2 separate regions of the Homo sapiens genome follow, and region 1 is linked to region 2. Evidence: promoter capture Hi-C in human tissues and cell types (Jung and others, 2019). All regions are on one chromosome and are shown on one strand. Each heading gives the region's core, a stretch centred on a gene start or on the middle of the fragment in contact. The rest is flanking DNA. Distances are from core to core; before and after follow the strand shown. Region 1 overlaps EARS2 (glutamyl-tRNA synthetase 2, mitochondrial). Region 2 holds the start of SCNN1G (sodium channel epithelial 1 subunit gamma).

The links. Contacts are between HindIII fragments. The study calls those that stand out against the background at their distance.
Region 1: a fragment that was not itself captured here is called in contact with the fragment with the promoter of SCNN1G in region 2 in 1 of the 25 tissues and cell types used here (lymphoblastoid cells).

The regions. Positions count from the first base shown.
Region 1 is chr16:23,538,038-23,542,028 of GRCh38, forward strand. The region is part of intron 3 of EARS2 (glutamyl-tRNA synthetase 2, mitochondrial); the gene reads right to left. It also overlaps the pseudogene SUB1P4. Among named protein-coding and RNA genes, the nearest start is that of EARS2, 17 kb to the right of the region's middle. RefSeq lists enhancers at 1-470, 471-970, 571-865. The HindIII fragment of the contact is 8,042 bases long and covers 1-3,991 here.
Region 2 is chr16:23,180,795-23,184,634 of GRCh38, forward strand. It overlaps SCNN1G (sodium channel epithelial 1 subunit gamma), which reads left to right and starts at 1,951. Exons shown (of 13, transcript NM_001039.4): 1 at 1,951-2,019. RefSeq lists a silencer at 1,673-1,922. The HindIII fragment of the contact is 8,387 bases long and covers 1-3,290 here.

The DNA.
Region 1 (3,991 bases), core at 1,239-3,738, 360 kb after region 2:
CTCCCAAAGTGCTGGGATTACAGGCATGAGCCACCGCACCTAGCTGGAACAGATATTCTAATCGATACATTGATGATGCAGTAAGAAAACTGTAAAGTCTGAGCCATACAAAACCTACACTATCCTAGTTGGGTTTTTTTGTTTTTTGTTTTGAGATGGAGTCTCGCTCTGTCACCCAGGCTGGAGTGCAGCGGCGTGATCTTGGCTCACTGTAGCCTCTGCCTCCCAGGCTCCCAAGTAGCTGGGATTACAGGTGCACGCCACCATGCCCAGCTAATTTCAGCAGAGATGGGGTTTCACCACGTTGGCCAAGCTGGTCTCGAATTCCTGACCTCAGGTGATCTGCCTACCTCAGCCTCCCAAAGTGCTGGGATTACAGGCGTGAGCCACCGTGCCTGGCTTCTAGTTGTATTAATCTGTCTTTTTACATTGGCTTCTGTTTTCTAAATGTTGTTCTCCAAGCTGTCATATGTTTGGATTACAGAACAACTTGTAAGATGAATACTTGTTTTAAATGTGCATTATTGAATATGTTCTGTCCAAGTGCGGTGGCTCACTCCTGTAATCCCAGCATTTCGGGAGGACAAGGCAGGAGAACTGCTTGAGCCCAGGAGTTCAAAACCAACCTGGGTAACGAGACCTTGTCTCTACTAGAAATTTAAGAAAAAAAAAGAATTAGCCGGGCATGGTGGGTACATGTGTGTAGTTCCACCCACTTGGGAGACTGAAGCAGGATTGCTTGAGCCCAGGAAGTCAAGGCTGTGGTGAGTCATGATTGCATCGCTCCAGCCTGGGTGACACAGCAAGACCCTGTCTGGAAAAAAAAGTCCTAAGGGAAGCTAACTGTCAGCTTTATTAAGAAGGATTGCTTTGTACCTACCACCTAATGTAAAATAAAACCAAGTAATACATTCTCAACAGTTATGGCCCCCCTCCTTTTTTTTTTTTTTTTTTTTTTGAGACAGGGTCTCATTCTGTCTCCCAGGCTGGAGTGCAGTGGCACAATCTCAGCTCACTGCAACCTCCATCTCCCTAGTTCAGCTGATTCTCCTGCCTCAGCCTCCTAAGTAGCTGAGATTATGGGCACACACCACCAAGCCCAGCTAATTTTTGTACTTTAATATAGATAGGGTTTCACCACGTTGCCCAGGCTGCAGTTGTGTCCTTTTTTTGCTCATAAGAGCTAGTACTGTTTAAGGCCCAAAGTAATAGTTTTTACAGATCTTTTAGTTTCAACTAAGCTTTTACAATAGAAAGGACTTGTATTGCATTGAGTTTATAAACTTTTGGTTTGTGAAATCCATACTTGATCTGTTCTTTTCCAACCAAATGTCTAGGCTTGACTTTTCCACCCCAATGACATTTCACTTTATTAAATATTAGCAGATATACTTTGATAACCAACACAGCTTGTATGAAAACTGAGCAAGTGTCCATCATGACCCATAGGGTTCTGGGTAGTTGTTACCTTACTGTTTAGTCCACAAAAAATAACGACTTAGATAAGCTGTCTGATTTGCTTTCGCTTATTAAACACGTTCACCATGAGATGATGTGTGTAACATCAGATACCGTTAAATTAGACTAGGATTTAATACAAATCCTGAAAGCTTAAAATAAATAAATAAATAAATGGCTGCAAGGATTCCACAACAGGGCATGACTATAATTTAACAAAAAAAAAAAATCTGTTGGCCAGGCATGGTGGCTCATGCCTATAATCCCAGCACTTTGGGAAGCTGAGGTGGGAAGATCGCTTGAGTTTCATACCAGCCTGGGCAAAATAGGGGAATTCCATCTCTACAAAAATTTAAAAACTAGCTGTGTGCCAGCCGGGCATGATGGCTCACACCTATAATCCCAGCACTTTGGGAGGCTGAGGTGGGTGGATCTCCTATGCTCAGGAGTTTGAGACCAGCCTAGGCAACACGGAGAAACCCCGTCTCTACCAAAAAATACAAAAAAAATTTGCCGGGCATGGCGGCACACACCTGTGGTTCCAGCTGTTTGGGAGGCTGAGATGAGAGGACTGCTTGAGCCCAGGAGGCAGAAGTTGCCTTGAGCCAATATCACACCACTGCACTCCAATCTGGGTGACAGAGTGAGACCCCATCTCAAAACAAAACAAAACATAACACTCTGTGTGTGGTGGTACATGGCTGTGGTCACAGCTACTTGAGAGGCTGAGGATGTAGGATTGCTTGAACCCAGGAGATTCAAGGCTGCAATGAGCTGTGATCATGCTACTGCACTCCAGCCTGGGTCACAGAATGAGATGAGAAAAAAAATATTCTGTCAAGAGACAAATACATTGTTTATAATAAAAAGGCAATGTCACCGTAAACGTCATGACCTTGGCCAAACAGCTGAGCCCTTGACCAAATAGTTCACTGGAACTGCAATGTAAATGTTACAATGCTATTGCAGATGGGAGTGTAAACAAGTAAAGGGCCAGCCACTTGGCAGTATCCATCAAAGCTACAACTCGACTCTGCAATTCCACCTCTAGGAAGGTATTCAGCAAACATACTGCACAAGTGCAAAATGACATATGTCAACATTAGTCATCACAGCTCTCTTCTTTTATAACCAAATATTAGAAATAACATAAAGGTTTGGGCTGAGCGCAGTGGCTCATGCCAGTAGTCCTAGCACTTTGGGAGGCCGAGGCAGGTGGATTGCCTGAGCTCGTCCTAGCACTTTGGGAGGCCGAGGCAGGTGGATTGCCTGAGCTCAAGAGTTCAAGACCAGCCTGGGTAACACGGTGAAACCCCGTCTCTACTAAAATATAAAAGAAAATTAAATTAGCCAAGTGTGGTGGCATGCACCTCTAGTCCCAGCTCCTCAGGAGGCTGAGACAGGAGAATTGCTTGTATCCAGGAAGTGGAGGTTGCAGTGAGCCAAGATCACACCACTGCACACCAGCCTGGGCAACAGAGCAAGACTCCGTCTCCAAAAAATAAATAAATAAATAAATAACATAAAGGTTTATTAAGGCCGAGTGTCGTAGCTCATGCCTGTAATCCCAGCACTTTGGGAGGCCACTTGAGGATCACTTGGGCAGATCACTTGAGGTCAGGAGTTTGAGACCAGCCTGACCAACATGGTGAAACCCCATCTCTACCAAAAAAATACAAAAATTAGCAGGGTGTGGTGGCGGGCACCTGTAATCCCAGCTACTCGGGAGGCTGAGGCCAGAGAATCACTTGAACCTGGGAGATGGAGATTGCAGTGAGCCAAGATCTTGCCACTGCACTCCAGCCTGGGGAATAGAGCAAGACTCCATTTCTAAAATAACACAACATAACATAAAACAAAACAAAACAAAACAAAAATAAATGTTTGTTAAGACGAAACTGATTAAGTAAATGAAGTTATATCCACAAATGGAATATTATGCATTATTATGGACTGATATCTGATCCTCAAGATGGTAAGCGGACATGGTAAATTGCACCACATAGCATGTACATAGTACATTGCATGCTACCATGTGAATAAGGAAAAAGAGAAAATAATATGTACTTATAGGTATATGTACTGAATGTCTCTGGAGGAGACATAAGAAAATTTTAACACTGGTTATCTCTGGAGAGCAGAATTGAGTGGCCAGAGTCAAGATTGGAAGAGAGTTCTTTCAATATATATCTTTGTGGATCTTCTTTTTTTTTTTTTTGAGACAGTCTCCCTCTGTCACCCAGGCTGGAGTACAATGGCACAATCTCAGCTCACTGCAACCTCCACCTTCTGGGTTCATGCGATTCTAGTGCCTCAACCTCCCAGGTAGCTAGGATTACAGGCGTGCACCACCAAGCTCAGCTAATTTTTTTTTTTTTTTGGAGATGGAGTCTTGCTCTGTTGCCCAGGCTGGAGTACAATGGCATGATCTCAGCTCACTGCAACCTTCGCCTCCCAGGTTCAAATTATTCTCCCGCCTCAGCCTCCCAAGTAGCTGGGATTATAGGCACCCGCCATCATGCCCAGCTAATTT
Region 2 (3,840 bases), core at 701-3,200:
TAAAAGACAAAAAGAAGAAAAAGCTGGCTTTATTTTGCAGTGAGAATATAACTGTGTATTGTCATTCAAAACAAACATAGAATTTGAACAGTGTGTGTTTCAAAATCCCATTATATATGTATGTGTATATATATAAAACTAATATGTGTGTGTGGACACACACACATACACACACACCAAATAATAACCAAACTGTTAGCCATGCTTATTTGGGGAGGGGGGGGCACAGTTTATTGTTTTAATTCTTTGCAATGAGCATATATTGTTAGAAGAAGCAGCTGAGATTTTTTAGAGGATTTTCTTTAAATTTCTCTCCAATAATGCTGGACCTGTTTCCATCCACCTGGGCAAACCGCCCTTGGACCAGCAACCAAGGCATCTCCTAGGAATTTGGAAATTCGGACTCTTAAGACCCACTCCACCCCTATCGAGTCAGAATCTGCATTTTAACAACATCCATAGGTGATTGTAACCACATTCAAATCTGAGAAGCTCTAGGTAAGAACAGATCCTTTCCTCTCTCTGGGCTTCAGTTTCTCCCCGGCACAAAGGGGCTGTGTCTCTATGGTCCCTCCCAATTGCAGTTTTCTAATCTCGTTTCTTGTAGTTATCTGAGTCCCTATAAAAAGGCAGCTGAAGCTAGGAAAGGTGGCTTACCTCTGTAATTCCAGCTATTTGAGACGCTGAAGTGGGAGGCTCGCTTGAGCCCAGTAGTTGGCAGCTACAGTGAGCTATGATTGCAGCACTGCACTCCAGCCAAGGTGACAGAGGCAGACCCTGTTAAAAAAAGAAAGAGAGAAATAGAGGAAAGAAAGAAAGAAAAAGAAAGAAAGAAAGAAAGAAAGGAAGAAAGAAAAAGGAGGGAGGGAGGGAGGAAGGAAGGAAGGGAGAGAGAGAAAGAAGAAAGAGGGAGGAAGGAAGGAAGGAAGGCAAGCAAGCAAGAAAGAGAAAGGAAGGAAGGAAGGAAGGAAGGAAGGAAGGAAGGAAGGAAGGAAGGAAGGAAGGTGGGCGGGCGGGAAGGCAGGCAGGCAGGCAAGGAAGGAAGGAGGAAAGAAAGGAAAGAAAGAGAGAAAGAGAAAGAAGGACAGGCCAGGCGCGGTGGCTCACACCTGTAATCCCAGCACTTTGGGAGGCCAAGACGCGTGGATCACCTGAGGTCAGTAGTTTGAGACCAGCCTGGCCAACATGGTGAAACCGCGTCTCTACTAAAAACACAAAAATTAATCCGGGCATGGTGGCGCGCGCCTGTAACCCCAGCTACTTGGGAGGCTGAGGCAGGAGAATTGCTTGAACCCGGGAGGCGGAGGTTGTAGTGAGCTGAGATAGCGTCATTGCACTCCAGACTGGGCGACAGAGCGAGACTCCGTCAAAAAAAAAAAAAAAGAAGGAAAGAGGAAAAGAAAGAAGAAGGAAGGAGGAAATAACGAAAGAAAGAGAAAGAAGCAGCTGAAAAGGTCAAAGGATGAGTGGCCTGGCTGAACAGCCCCTGCTGCCTACAGCCGGACGCTGGTGGGCACTGAAGCTGCAGGTCTGGAGGGAGTCCGAGGAGCGAGGCTGCGTGGGATTACTGCTGGTGCTAGGGCAGGCACCTGCCATCTGGACGGGAGTGGAAGGAAGTCGCGGGGCAGTAATAGGGGGCAGCAGGCGCTTTGAGGCGCCTTGGGGTAAGTGCCGCAGAGACCCAGCGGGAATGCAGGATGGCAGGGCGGCCTCGGGGCGGCAGCAGGCACTGCGCGGTGGCCCAGGAAGACGCAGCGCGGCCGGGCTGGGGCGCAGGGCGGCTTCGGGGCGCCAGGGGGCGTTGTGAAGTCGTGGCCCGCTCCGGGCGGTCTCAGGTGCCTGGCGGCCTGGGGAAAGCACCTGGGCAGGTGGGGGCGGGGCCTGGGGAGGCGGGTCCCTAGGGGGCGGGGCCTGGCCGGCCCACAAGAGCCCGCGGTGGCGCTGCCAGGGGATGCTAGCCCGAGAGCGAGCAGAGGAGCAGCGCACCCGCACGAGCCTTGGACCCTTTGGAACCGAAAGGTGAGTTCAGCCGGGTTGGGTCGGACCAGCTCGGGGGTTCTGGGCACTGGAGCGGATGCCGGGCGCCAGGGCGTCGGACGCCGTCAGCGCGGTGGGTGGCCGAGCCAGCATCAGCCGGTGGCGGCTTCCCGGTGCCCGGGATGCTGGGACACCTTGCCCGGGCGGTAGCGGCCAGCTCTCCCGGGTCTACCCACGCCGTGGCCCGGAGCACGAAGCCAGTCGAGAGCCACTCAGAGTCCGGGGGTCTGGGGGTCCCGGGCCACACCTGGCCTCTTTTCTCCGCCCAGCGCCTGTTCAGCCCCCTTCCCTGCCGGGGTGAGTCGCGTGGACCTGTCCGCTACTGTTCCTTCTACCCTCTGGAATGCTTTCTCCGGGGTGACTTGGTGCAGAAAGAAGCAAACACTTGAAGTGGGCTGGTTGGATTCGCTCCAGCGCCTTCAGCCGGCGCTCCCCCGGGGCAGACGTGGCTTCCGCCACAGGACAGCGCCCGCTCGCTCCGCGCAGGGAGGGCAGGGCTGCGGGGTCGCTCGGCAGGAGCTCGGGTCAGGGCCCTGAGGTTGAGTTCAAGTGATTTCTGCACAGGACTCGCCCTTCGGGACGGGCACTGATCGGGAACTCTCCGGTCCAGCGAACCCAACGCTAGACTTGGGGCAAATCTCTCATCCCTCTCCAAGCTTTGGGGTCCTGCACTGTGGGATGGGGGACAGGCAAAGTCGGTGGTAGGTGAGGAGGGGGTGCACGGAGCCGCTGCGATGAGCCAGGGCCCTGGAATTCTAAAGAATCCTTCAAATCCTTTCTACCTGTGTGGTCTTGGGCAAATTACCTAACCTCTGTGCCTCAGTTTCCTTCTCTGTGAAATGGGCCAAGTAATAGCACCTCATATAACTGTAGTGAGGATTAAATCAGGTAGTGTGTGAAAAGGACTGAGTGGGATGCCTGGGAGTACAGAAAGGGATCAATAAGTGATAGCTGCCATTATTGCTGCTTTCCCTGCTGCTGTTATTATTATTAATGATTGAAGAGCAGCCTAGTTAGTCGTTAAAGGGACTCCTAGGTGCAAATCCCAGCTCAGCCACTTTCTAGTGTGACCTTGGGCAAGCTACTTAACCTGTCAGCGTCTGTTTCATTTGTACAATGGAGGTGGTTGTGATACCTACCTCAGACGATTATCGTGAAAATTAAATGAGGTGACAGCTGCAAAGTACTTAGAAGAGTAAGTGCTGGGTATCAGCTAGTAATTCTTCCACCAAGGGTATCACATTGGCTCAGGCTGCATAATCTAATGGTAGCTACAGTCTTGTTTTGCTTTGAAGTTGAAATATTATTTATATGAATATTTTATCTGTTTTGCAAAGAGCAAGATCAGTTCCCTTCCTTCACTTGGGGGCTCCTCTGACATTGTCGACTGATCCATTGGGGTCAAGGTCGGTTCTGGGGAAGGGGCTGATGGGGCAGAGGTACCCCTGAGAGCTGGGGATAGGAGCTTCCAGAATCACAGCTTCTGTTGAACATTCACAGAGGAGGGCTGCAGTTTTATTTGACAAGCAATTGAACCTGGACCTAGATTTTAAAAACAAACTCTCGCTAATTTTTTTCTTTCTTTCCTTCTTCTTTATTTCATTTTTTATTTTTTTGGATTGTAGTGAGGGAGGAGGTAAGGATAGGCAATATTTTAAGTGATAAAAAAATAAATTATATTCCTCTTGCCCAGAGGCTACTAGCATCATTTTGATGGTGTTCTTCATCCCAGCAAAATCATATCAATCTATGGAGGGTTTAGAGCAGTTTGTCTGCTCTGGACATCTCACCTCCATGCCCAGC